Regions from separate parts of the Homo sapiens genome. Here region 1 is linked to region 2. Evidence: promoter capture Hi-C in 16 types of primary human blood cells and fetal thymus (Javierre and others, 2016). All regions are on one chromosome and are shown on one strand. Each heading gives the region's core, a stretch centred on a gene start or on the middle of the fragment in contact. The rest is flanking DNA. Distances are from core to core; before and after follow the strand shown. Region 1 overlaps HEXIM2-AS1 (HEXIM2 antisense RNA 1). Region 2 holds the start of ITGA2B (integrin subunit alpha 2b).

Region 1 (6,332 bases), core at 383-2,882, 770 kb before region 2:
ACCACTAATTCCCCCTGGGAGCAGCTAGAGAGGGGCACTTGGAAACCTTCACGAGCTCGGTGCCTGAAGGTCTCTGAGGCTCTTGCCCTCAAGATCTCTCCCATTCAGCCCCGATTCTCCGGACAACCTGACCTAGCATGTCGCCAGCCTCTTGGTGAAACGCCTAAAGTGTGCTGCCCCACTTCTCTTGAAAGTTTACACCGAAGGGATGAGGTTTTGCCCTTTACAGGGTTGGGGCACAAAGTCGGAGTCGCTGCGGCTCCGAAATAGAAACGGAGTTGCCCATTTCGTATGCTTCATCAACATCTGCTTGCATTTTGAAATCCTAGTCTTAACTTTTACACAACTTTTAGAGAAATGGCTGCCCTCCTAGAGGGAAAAACGAACTACAGTAATTCCAATTCCAATGTAATCTTTGTAAGACTACAAAATCTTTCCAGTTTAAAGATTTTTCTTTTCCCACAGACTAAACAAAGTCAGAGTATTTTGTGTTCTACTGGTGCATTGTTACTAGGTAACCTCAATTTTTTGAAATTCCAAGTAATTGAAGGATCACTTTTGTAGATCCTAAATGCTACCAAAAAAGAAACCAGTTTTTATCTACTTCATATGTATAGCGTTTAAGAGATGAGGAGACCTGCTTTGAAAGAATAAACTCTTAACCTTACATTATAGCTGTAGCAGCTTCTTAAAGATTGAAGTTTGATGTGAAGTTCTTTTATTGAATTGCAGGTTAAACCATCTTACTTCCTACTGCTTGAAATCTAAATCCAGAGAGATTTGTGGCTCAAGGATATCTTCAAATAAAAGTTTTATTGCTAAAATGTCAGTTAAAATTATGCCTAGGTAGGTGCTGAAGTAGGAGAGGCTTTGACGTAGCAGAGTGACTGGCAGTGAATTTTGTGGGTACCTTGTGATGAGTCTTATTATCAGTTACAAATGGTCAAAACATGCCTAAGCCTTCAGCCTTACTAAAAGTTTAACAGAACTTGGCCTGGCGCGGTGGCTCACACCTGTAATCCCAGCCCTTTGGGAGGTGGAGGCGGGTGGATCACCTGAGGTCAGGAGTTTGAGACCAACCTGGCCAACATGGTGAAGCCCCTTCTCTACTAAAAATACAAAATTAGCCGGGTGTGGAGTTGCGTGCCTGTAATCCCAGCTACTCGGGAGGCTGAGGCAGGAGAATCGCTTGAACCCAGGAGGCAGAGTTTGCCATGAGCCTCTCACCGTTGCACTCCAGCCTGGGTGACAGAGTAAGACTCTGTCTCAAAAAAAAAAAAAAGTTTTCCAGAACTGAAGTTCTGCTCCTCCTATTAATAATTTTTCTTCAGTTGGAGTGACAACTCCATAGCATTAACTTTTTTCCCTCTGCTCCCCAGATGTTTTACAACTGGATTACAAAATAGGATCATCATTGACTAGGGTCCTCAATCCAAAACTGGAACCACTTACTCCTAACTGAAGCTTCAGTACACTTGATGCCTACTGTGGTTTGATTTTTTACCTACATATGACATGTTCGCTCTACACTGATCAAGAGATGTGAGTTTAAAAAAGCTAACTAACTTGGTAGGACTTAAATAGTCATAGGAACAGAAAAGGCTTTTAAAGACGATCTTTGTGGGTCTTCTGTCAAGAATTTAATGGAGGATCCTAGACACTTGGGATTCATCCTCCATTATGAAGTAATCTAGTGAAATTTTTGGATGCTACTGAGTGGCAAATACTGTACCAGCAGCAGAAATTTGTTACTCATTTGTAAATGAAACTTACTATCCTTAAGGTTGACCCACAAGCTTTTCCATTCTTTGCTAAGAAAAATTGGGAATAGGCCGGGCACAGTGGCTCACGCCTGTAATCCCAGCACTTTGGGAGGCCAAGGCGGGCAGATCACGAGGTCAAGAGATTGAGACCGTCCTGGCAGACATGGTGAAACCCCATCTCTACTAAAAATACAAAAATTAGCTGAGTGTGGTGGTGTGCACCTGTAGTCACAGCTACTTGGGAAGCTGAGGCAGGAGAATTGCTTGAACCCCGGGGCTGGAGGTTGCAGTGAGCCGAGATCGTGCCACTGCACTCCAGCCTGGGTGACAGAGCAAGATTCTGTCTCAAAAAAAAAAAAAGAAAAAATGGGAATAAAACCAGCTTATTAGTGGCCTCCTGGTTATCTAAGGAAAACACAGGACTGTAGGACTGAAAATTAGGAACTCCGAGCTCTGTTTCTGTGTGTGCTGCCCTTAACTTGGTTGACTTGGCCAGAGGCCAAATACTGATAATGAGGCCAAACTGGTCATTTTGCTGCTTAGTCTATTGTTCATCTACTGTTCAACCAGACTTTCAACTTCCTTTTCAGCTCTCCCCTCTCAGATGAGTTGCATTATGCTTTTATGACAAATTCTACAAACTCTATATTCATTTGAAAATGGTATCAGCACTGTCTCCCTCATAAATACCTAGAGGAGTAACTAGTCTTAAGTCGCTATGTAAACACTTACTCCTTGTAACTTTGTTATATGAGAACTTCACAAGGAATGCTTCAAAGATCATTGGGGCAGTTGGAAAGCCTGCCTTACCAAAGTGTGGCCTTAGTTGTCCATAGCATCACAAAAGAGCCATCCAAGTAGGCTGAATGAGGATCAGTCTCTCAGGGTGCCCACTGGTTGTGGCTGTGAAGTCCTGGACACTCATTTTGCCTGATGGCCAAATCCTAGGGAGCAGTGACTATGTGTGAGTAGGATTCGTTGACAGAGGTAGGAGGTTTTTTTTTTGTTTTTTTTTCCTGCTGCCTGTATAATTGCAGAAAAGGAGTGATTCTTTACAGTAATTCCCCCTCTTCGGGATGAAGATGCTTGCTTCTGTTTGGTTTCCACAGTTAAATCAATTTTTTTTCCTTTTCTTTTGAGATGGAATCTTGCTCTGTCGCCCAGGCTGGAGTGCAGTGGCGCGATTTCGCCCACTGCAACCTCCACCTCCCAGGTTTAAGCGATTCTCCTGCCTCAGCCTCCCGCGTAGCTAGGATTACAGGCACTCACCACCATGCCTGGCTAATTTTTGCATTTTATTTTTTTCTGGAACGGAGTTTCACCTGGTTGCCAAGGCTGGAGCGCGATGGTGTGATCTTGGCTCACCACAACCTCTGCCTCCTGGGTTCAAGCGATTCTCCTGCCTCAGCCTCCCAAGGAGCTGGGACTATAGGCATGCGCCACCATGCACGGCTAGTTTTGTATTTTTAGTAGAGATGGGGTTTCTCCATGTTGGTCAGGCTGGTCTTGAACTCCCAACCTCAGGTGATCCTCCCACCTTGGCCTCCCAAAGTGCTGGGATTACAGTCAGTGAGCCACTGTGCCCGGCCTGTATTTGTATTTTTAGTAGAGACAGGGTTTTACCATGTTGGCCAGGCTGGTCTCCAACTCCTGACCTCAGGTGGTCCGCCCACCTCGGCCTCCCAGTGTGCTAGGATTGCAGGCGTGAGCTACGGTGCCTGGCCAGTTAATCAGTTTTTTACCCTCCTGTGTTTAGGCCCCAACATCCTGTTCTTGATCTTTTTTGGCAAAAATTTGGCCAAAGATTGAAATTTTGCCTCCTGGACCATATATTTTGCTCCAGTTGCAAAGTATGACTTTTATCCTTTGGTCAGCAGTTCCCATGGTGTTTAGGGCCTGAATTTGACATTCTTTTTTTTTTTTCTTTTTGAGATGGAGTCTAGCTCTGTTGCCCAGGCTGGAGTGCAGTGGCACGATCTCGGCTTGCCGCAACCTCTGCCTCCCGGCTTCAAGCAGTTCTCCCTGCCTCAGCCTCCCAAATATCTGGGATTACAGGCGCCCACCACCACACCCGGCTAATTTTTGTAGCTTTTTTTGTTTGTTTGTTTGTTTTTGAGAGTCTCACTCTGTCACCAGACTGGAGTGCAGTGGCGCAGTCTCGGCTCACTGCAACCTCTGCCTCCTGGGTTCAAGCAATTCTCCTGCCTCAGCTTCCCAAGTAGCTGGGACTACGGGTGGGCACCACCATGCCTAGCTAATTTTTTTTCTGTATTTTTAGTAGAGACGGAGTTTTACCATATTGGCCAGGATGGTCTCGATCTCTTGACCTTGTGATGCGCCCGCCTCGGCCTCCCAAAGTGCTGGGATTACAGGCGTGAGCCACCGTACCTGGCAACATTCTCTTTTTTTAAAAAAATAACTTTTTATTTCTAGCCTCAACCATTTACACTTTGCTTGAGAAAGAATAATAAAGTGGAATTGTTATTCCAGTGATGTTGTGCAAATGTGAGAAATAGTACTTCCCCCAAAAAAACAAACCTCGAAACCCCACAAACTCAAGTGTACTTAAGTACTTAACGTTCAAGTACTTTTTAACTATAACCAACTTTTCCACCACACTGTTGTGAATATTTGTTGCTAGCTGTTATGGGTATAAGTGATCAAGGGAAGAACTGATGCATTACCTAATGCTTGACTAAATATAGCCAGCCCTTAAGTAGGTAGAGTATTTGGTTGTGGGTTTTGTTGTTTAAGTCTGTGGAGTCCCTCTTTGGTTTCTTTAACTTTTGCAGTCATTAGGGCAGAGTATATTTATTTACATTTCTCCAAGCAAAGTCTTGCTCTGTTGCCCAGGCTGGAGTACGGTGGCGCGATCTCGGCTCACTACAACCTCTGCCTCCCAGGTTCAAGCAATTGTCCTGCCTCAGCCTCCCGAGTAGCTGGGATTACAGATACCCGCCACGATGCCTGGCTAATTTTTGTATTTTTAATAGAGACGAGATTTTGCCATGTTGGCCAGGCTGGTTTCGAACTTTTGACCTCAAGTGATCCATCTGCCTTGGCCTCCCAACGTGCTGGGATTACAGGCGTGAGCCACCATGCCTGGCCTAAATTTACTTTTTAATAGAGACGAGGCTGGTTATGTTGCCTGTGTTGGTAACTGTGTTGCCTAGGCTGGTGTCAAGTGCTTGAGCTCAAGTGACCCTCCTGCCTTGGCTTCCCAAAGTGTTAGGATTACAGGCATGAAGCCACTGCGCCTGGCCTGTCTAATCTTTATTATGCTTCCCCTCTTTAGAGATACTTAGTCTGTTTTTCAGAACTAAACCAATCTGGAACTCCCTGGCTCTCTCTCCTAAAACTCTGAAGTCTAGAGGACCCTGTCTCCTGAGGGCTCTAAGAAAAGCTGTCCAGCTAGCTGTGTCAGTTTGAGAAGCAGTTTTTCCTGATTGAATACCTAGGCCCCAGTAGGAAAAAGGGAACAAACTGAAATTGCTAATTTGTAAGCCTGGTCTTTTGAGCAGCTCAGTTAAAATGCTTGACAGAGGACTTAAGTGAAAGGCTAGAGTGGGCTTGGGGTTCATTTATCATCAAAGCCCCCTGTTCAATGTAGGTAAATCAGCGGGGTGTGTTGGTATCCACCTTTAGTCCCAGCTACTCAGGAACCTGAGGTGGGAGGATCACTCAAGCCCAGGAATTTGAGGCTGCAGTGAGATATGATAGCGCCACTGCAGTCTAGCTTGGGCAACTGAGGGAGACCCCATCTTTTTTTTTTTTTTTCAACTTTTTTTTTTTTTTTGAGACAGGGTTTCACTATGTTACCCAGGCTGGTCTCAAACTACTGAGCTCAAGGATTCTGCCCACCTTGGCCTTCCAAAGTGCTAGGGTTACAGGTGTGAGTCACCGGGCCTGTTGAAACCCCAATTCTTTAAAAAAAAAAAAAAAGCTTTTTTTTTTTTTTTTTTTGAGACAGAGTCTTATTCTGCCACCTAGGCTGGAGTGCAGTGTGGCGTGATGTTGGCTCACTGCAACCTTTGCCTCCCGGATTCAAGTGATTCTCCTGCCTCAGCCTCCCAAGTAGCTGGGATTACAGGCACCCACCACCATGCCCAGCTAATTTTTGTGTTTTTTTGTTGTTGTTTTTGTTTTTGAGACGGAGTCTCGCTCTGTTGCCCAGGCTGGAGTGCAGTGGTGTGATCTCGGCCCACTGCAAGCTCTGCCTTCCGGGTTCACGCCATTCTCCTGTCTTAGCCTCCCGAGTAGCTGGGACTAAAGGCGCCCGCCACCACACCCAGCTAATTTTTTGTATTTTTAGTAGAGACGGGGTTTCACCATGTTAGCCAGGATGGTCTCGATCTCCTGACCTCGTGATCCGCCCGCCTTGGCCTCCCAAAGTGCTGGGATTACAGGCGTGAGCCACCACACCTGGCCAATTTTTGTATTTTTAGTAGAGACAGGGTTTCACCATGTTGGCCAGGCTGGTCTGGAACTCTTGACCTCAGGTGATCTGCCTGCCTCGGCCTCCCAAAGTGCTGGGATTACAGGCGTGAGCCACTGCGCCCGGCCTTTTTT
Region 2 (6,114 bases), core at 2,102-4,601:
ATTAGCTGGGCATGGTGGCACAAGCCTGTGGTCCCAGCTATTCATGAAGCTGATGTGGGAGGACTGCTTGAGCCCAGGGGTCAAGTCTGTAGTGAGCCATGTTCAGGTCACTGTACTACAGCCTGGGTGACAGAGCAAGATCCTGTCTCAAAAATAAAAAGAATATGAGCCAAGTAAAATATCATTAACTGAGGATTGTGCATCAGAATTGAGCCAAAAAAAATTCAAAAATGTGTTTTTTGGTTTTTGGTTTTTTGGGTTTTTTGAGATGGAATTTTGCTCTTGTTGCCCAGGCTGGAGTGTGATGGCACGATCTCGGCTGACCGCAACCTCCGTCTCCCAGGTTCAAGCAATTCTTCCTCAGCCTCCCAAGCAGCTGAGATTATAGGTGTGCACCACCACACCCGGCTAATTTTTGTATTTTTAGTAGAGACAGGGTTTTGCCATGTTGGCCAGGCTGATCTCAAACTCCTGGCCTCAAGCGATCCGCCCACCTTGGCCTCCCAAAGTGTTGGGAGATTACAGGTGTGAGCCACCATGCCCAGCAAAAAAAAAAAAAAAAAAAAAAAAAATTGTTTTTTAGGCATAGTCTTACTCTTGCCCAGGCTGGAGTGGAGTGGCAAAATCGTAGTGCACTGTAACCTAAAACTCGTGGGCTCAAGTGATTCTCCTGCCTCGGCCTCCTCAGTAGCTGGAACTACAGGTGTGCACTACCGTGCCTGGCTAATTTTAATTTTTTTGTAGAGACAGGGTCTCACTATGTTGCCCAGGCTGGTCCCAAACACCTGGCTTCAAGCAATCCTCATCTTGGCCTCCCAAAGTGCTAGGGTTACAGGCATGAGCCACCAAACCTGGTGTAAAAAATCTTTATAATTTTATTTTTCTTTTCTTTCTTTCTTTTTTTCTTTTTTGATGGAGTCTCACTCTGTCGCCCAGGCTGGAGTGCAGTGGCATGATCTTAGCTCACTGCCACCTCCGCCTCACAGGTTCAAGCAATTCTTTTGCCTCAGCCTCCCAAGTAGCTGGGATTACAGACACACACCACCACGCCCAGCTAATTTTTGTATTTTTAGTAGAGACGGGGTTTCACTAGGTTGGCCAGGCTGGTCTCAAACTCCTGACCTTGTGGTCCACTCGCCTGGGCCTCCCAAAGTGCTGGGATTACAGGCATGAGCCACCATGCCCGGCTAAAATCTTTATGATTTTCCATCCCCCATGGATTAAAGTTCAGATTCCTTAATATGGCATTCAAGGACCTCCAGTAATTTGAATCCCCAAGCTTTACCCCCTTGCGCCTCAGTCCAACCCTTTAAGCATTCTGCTATGCTGAGTCAACTACTTGTCCTTCCCTACCTCTGTGTTCCTTTGCTGCTCTCATGTATTCTCTATGCCTAAAAACCCTTTCATTCTCTGACAAAAGGCAACTTGAACATGAGTTCAAGTGCAACCCATGTTTGAATCTTAGTTTTGCCATCTGTTGGCTGCGTAAACATGGGCAATTTACCTAAAACTCTTGTGCCACAGTTTTGTGTTTATAAAATGGGCATAATAGTACTTATTTCCTAGGGTTGTTATGAGTAACAATGATATACGACTTTGATAATCTGTGTATTTTTCAAGGCATGCTTGACTGTCTCTCTGCTGCAGTTATGTGTGTTCATGTCTTAACTCTTTCTGGGCTGTTTGTTAAGTCTCCTTGATGGCTATCTTTGGAGTTTTTAAAATATTTTATTTTTTATAATTTTAAAATAGAGACGAGGTCTCACTGTATTGCCTAGGCTGGTCTTAAATGCCTGAGCTCAAGCCATCCTCCTGCCTCAGCCTCCCAAAGTGCTGGGATTACAGGCATGAGCCACTATACCTGGCCTAATGGTTATCTTTGTATCCTTTATCAACACAGTGCCTTGAACAGAGTAAATACTTATTGAAAACTTGAGTGAAATGTAAGTTCATATTTGGCCTCACAGAATACACCAGTAATACAGCAATCACTCACCTGAGGACAGTGGGAGGATAGAAGGTAAGTAGAGGACTGGGTTAAGTATTCGTTCAAGCAAATACATTAATTACACGCCTCCCATGTACTTGACACTGGGAACTCAGCAATGAAGAAGGCCCAGACCAAAGTTCAGGCTTTTAGCTTCCTGTCCTATAAAGGATAAGATTCTTAACTCTAGGCTGAGGTAGTAAATTACGAGGGGACTTCAAAATGGTACAGGGTGGTTGAGCAGGATACGGCAATGGTTAAGTTTGATCAGAAAATAGAAATCAAAAGGAAAATGTGGCTATGGTTACCCCTAGCGGACCTCTTAAATCTTCCTGAGAACCTGCTTTTTTGGGAAGGCATGAGTGCCAGTAAGACTTGGCACTCCTCCTCTTCCGCTTACCGAGAGAAAATGACTTTGCCTTTCTGCTCAAAACTCATCCCTTCACTTTGTCACCCTATGTTTGCATCTTCCATCCTTAGTGTGTGTTTCCATCCAGTCTTTCAGCAATACACGTACTACACATTGGACTCTTGGGTAGTCTCTAGGGCTGTAGCAAGGAGCCTTGCTCCCAAGGGACTCATTTACACAATCCTGTGAACGGACCAAGAGTAAACAGTGTGCTCAATGCTGTGCCTACGTGTGTTAGCCCACGCGGCCAGCCTGAGGAGTCAGGGAAGGCTCCCCTAGGCAAAGCCCCCAACCAGAATCAAGTCTTAATGGTTAAAGAGCTCCATCACCCAAAAAGGATTGAGGGCCTACCTTCAACTGAACAGCTAATGCATAATCTCAGAAACTGTGAGTCAAAATTCCCTGGAATAACTCCACTTTATCCCCAATCTCCTTGCCACCTAGACCAAGGTCCATTCACCACCCTGTCCCCAGCACTGACTGCACTGCTGTGGCCACACTAAAGCTTGGCTCAAGACGGAGGAGGAGTGAGGAAGCTGCTGCACCAATATGGCTGGTTGAGGCCGCCCAAGGTCCTAGAAGGAGGAAGTGGGTAAATGCCATATCCAAAAAGATACAGAAGCCTCAGGTTTTATCGGGGGCAGCAGCTTCCTTCTCCTTCCCCGACCTGTGGCCAAGTCACAAAGCACCACAGCTGTACAGCCAGATGGGGGAAGGGAGGAGATTAGAACTGTAGGCTAGAGTAGACAAGTATGGACCAGTTCACAATCACGCTATCCCAAGCAGAAAGTGATGGTGGCTTGGACTAGCACGGTGGTAGTAGAGATGGGGTAAAGATTCAAGAGACATCATTGATAGGCAGAACCAATAGGACATGGTAATAAACTATTCTCAGGAAAGGGGAGGAGTCATGGCTTTCAGCCATGAGCATCCACCCTCTGGGTGGCCTCACCCACTTCCTGGCAATTCTAGCCACCATGAGTCCAGGGGCTATAGCCCTTTGCTCTGCCCGTTGCTCAGCAAGTTACTTGGGGTTCCAGTTTGATAAGAAAAGACTTCCTGTGGAGGAATCTGAAGGGAAGGAGGAGGAGCTGGCCCATTCCTGCCTGGGAGGTTGTGGAAGAAGGAAGATGGCCAGAGCTTTGTGTCCACTGCAAGCCCTCTGGCTTCTGGAGTGGGTGCTGCTGCTCTTGGGACCTTGTGCTGCCCCTCCAGCCTGGGCCTTGAACCTGGACCCAGTGCAGCTCACCTTCTATGCAGGCCCCAATGGCAGCCAGTTTGGATTTTCACTGGACTTCCACAAGGACAGCCATGGGAGGTGAGCCGTAAGGGAAGTTGGGGTATTGGGAGAGAGCAGGACCCCTCCCCATCACTGCTTCTGGGGGCTTCGAGTTTCCCATTTGCGATAGCAGTTGAGCAAGGTGACTTGTGGGGCCTATTCAGGTTGATTTCTTGTCAAGAATGTTGGGGTCCAGGGGACTGGCTCAGGTGAAGGTATAAGGGCAGGGCACATGTGGGCTGATGGGCACTGAAAACTACAGCAAGAACAAAGGGAAGACAAGAGTTGATGCTTTATTTTTTCCCCAAGGGTCAGTTGTATGAACCACTCCACCCTCAACACCTTGAAATGCAGAGAGGAGGCCGGGCGCGGTGGCTCATGCCTGTAATCCCAGCACTTTGGGAGGCCGAGGCGGGCAGATCACCTGAGGTCGAGAATTCGAGACCAGCCTGACCAACATGGAGAAACCCCGTCTCTACTAAAAATACAAAAAAAAAAAAAAAAAAGAGACCAGGCACAGTGGCTCACACCTGCAATCCCAGCACTTTGGGAGGCAGAGGTGGGCAGATCATGAGGTCAGGAGTTCAAGACCAGCCTGGCCAATATGGTGAAACCCTGTCTCTATTAAAAATACAAAAATTAGCTGAGCGTGGTGGCACACTCCTGTAGTCCCAGCTACTCGGGAGGCTGAGGTAGGAGAATCACTTGAACCCGGGAGGTGGAGGTTGCAGTGAGCTGAGATCATGCCACTGCACTCCAGCCTGGGTGACAGAGTGACACTCCGTCTCAAAAAAAAAAAAATTAGCCGGGCGTGGTGCCGCATGCTTGTAATCCCAGCTACTCGGGAGGCTGAGGCAGGAGAATCGTTTGAACCTGAGAGGCAGAGGTTGTGGTGAGCCGAGATCATGCCATTGCACTCCAGCCTGGGCAACGAGAGCGAAACTCTGTCTCAAAAAAAAAAAAAAAAAAAAAAGAAAGGAAATGTGGAGAGGAGCACATGTCCTAAATTGATTTGCAGAACTAAAGTTGTCTACCCTCCCGCACCTTGCATTTCTGTTCCATTTCCCTCATCTCCATCAACATTATAAATATTTGAAAAGAAGCAATAGGTCATTAATGATTAGTATTGATCAGGCTTCAGAATCAAGAGTGCCAAGATTAGAGTCTTGGCTCCTCCTCTTCATAGCGTGTACCCTGAGCTACTATTGTGAGAGACACTGTGCCCACCAGCTTCAGGGAGTGGCAATGGGTGGCAATGGCAGATAGCCTTCAAGTGTCAGCCACTTAGGGGATTTCCTCTGCTGAAGAGAGCCAGTTCACTCCAAGTCCCCTCCCAAGATGGCCCACATCCAGTGTCTGATCAATGAGAAGTGGGTGAGTGGGGAGAGTGGAGGCAGGTGTGGGGGAGGCATTTGATAAGGGTCCAGCCCTCTTTCATCAACTCTGACAATTCTTTTTTTCTTCTTCTTCTTTTTTTTTTTTTTTTTTTTTTTTTTTTGAGATGGGGTTTCGCTCTTGTTGCCCAGGCTGGAGTGCAATGGCACAATCACTGGCTCACCGCAACTTCTGCCTCCCGGGTTCAAGCGATTCTCCTGCCACAGCCTCCCGCGTAGCTGGGATTACAGGCATGTGCCACCACACCCGGCTAATTTTGTATTTTTAGTAGAGACGAGGTTTCTCCATGTTGGTCAGGGTGGTCTCGAACTCCCAACTTCAGGTGATCCACCCGCCTTGGCCTCCCAAAGTGCTGGGATTACAGGCTTCAGCCACCATGCCCAGACTTTTTTTCTTCTTTTTTTTTGAGATGGAGTTTCGCTCTCGTTGCCCAGGCTGGAGTGCAATGGGGTGATCTCGGCTCACTGCAACCTCTGCCTCCTGGGTTCAAACGATTCTCCTGTCTCAGCCTCCCGAGTAGCTGGGATTACAGGTGCATGCCACCATGCCCGGCTAATTTTTGTATTTTTAGTAGAGACAGGGTTTCACTATGTTGGCCAGGCTGGTCTCAAACTCCTGACCTCAGGTGATCAGCCTGCCTCGGCCTCCCAAAGTACTGGGATTACAGGCGTGAGCCACCACACCCGGCCAACTCTGACAATTTTGAAGGGTCATTCTAGTTCCAAAGCTCGTGGGGTGTTGGCGAATGCTGTCATTGGGCCTGAATCAGCTCAACTCCTTCCTGTGCCCACTCCTGCTGATTTCCCCTCCTATAAGTAGTGATCCCATTGGCACTACTTAAACATCCTGCAGGCTAAAAAAATATTATGGGCCAGACACAGAGGCTCACGCCTGTAATCCCTTGGCCTCCCAAAGTGCTGGGATTACAGGTGTGAGCCACCATGCCCAGCCTATAAAAAAATTTTTTTTAATTAGCCAGGCATGGTGTTGCACACCCGCAGTCCCAGCTACTAGGGTGGCTGAGGGGAGAGGATTGCTTGAGCC

Evidence for each region. The method cuts DNA at HindIII sites, captures the fragments that hold promoters and counts their contacts. A CHiCAGO score of 5 or more calls a contact.
Region 1: a fragment that was not itself captured here is called in contact with the fragment with the promoter of ITGA2B in region 2 in 1 of 17 cell types (megakaryocytes); the score reaches 5.1 in megakaryocytes.

What each region holds. Positions count from the first base shown.
Region 1 is chr17:45,154,540-45,160,871 of GRCh38, reverse strand. It overlaps HEXIM2-AS1 (HEXIM2 antisense RNA 1), which reads left to right. Exons shown (of 3, transcript NR_186789.1): 2 at 1,380-1,542. It also overlaps a transcript of HEXIM2 not described here. Among named protein-coding and RNA genes, the nearest start is that of HEXIM2-AS1, 3.8 kb to the left of the region's middle. RefSeq lists an enhancer at 1-362. The HindIII fragment of the contact is 332 bases long and covers 1,467-1,798 here.
Region 2 is chr17:44,386,886-44,392,999 of GRCh38, reverse strand. ITGA2B (integrin subunit alpha 2b) reads left to right here and starts at 3,351. Exons shown (of 30, transcript NM_000419.5): 1 at 3,351-3,714. The coding sequence starts at 3,527. RefSeq lists an enhancer at 3,135-3,194. The HindIII fragment of the contact is 14,706 bases long and covers 2,904-6,114 here.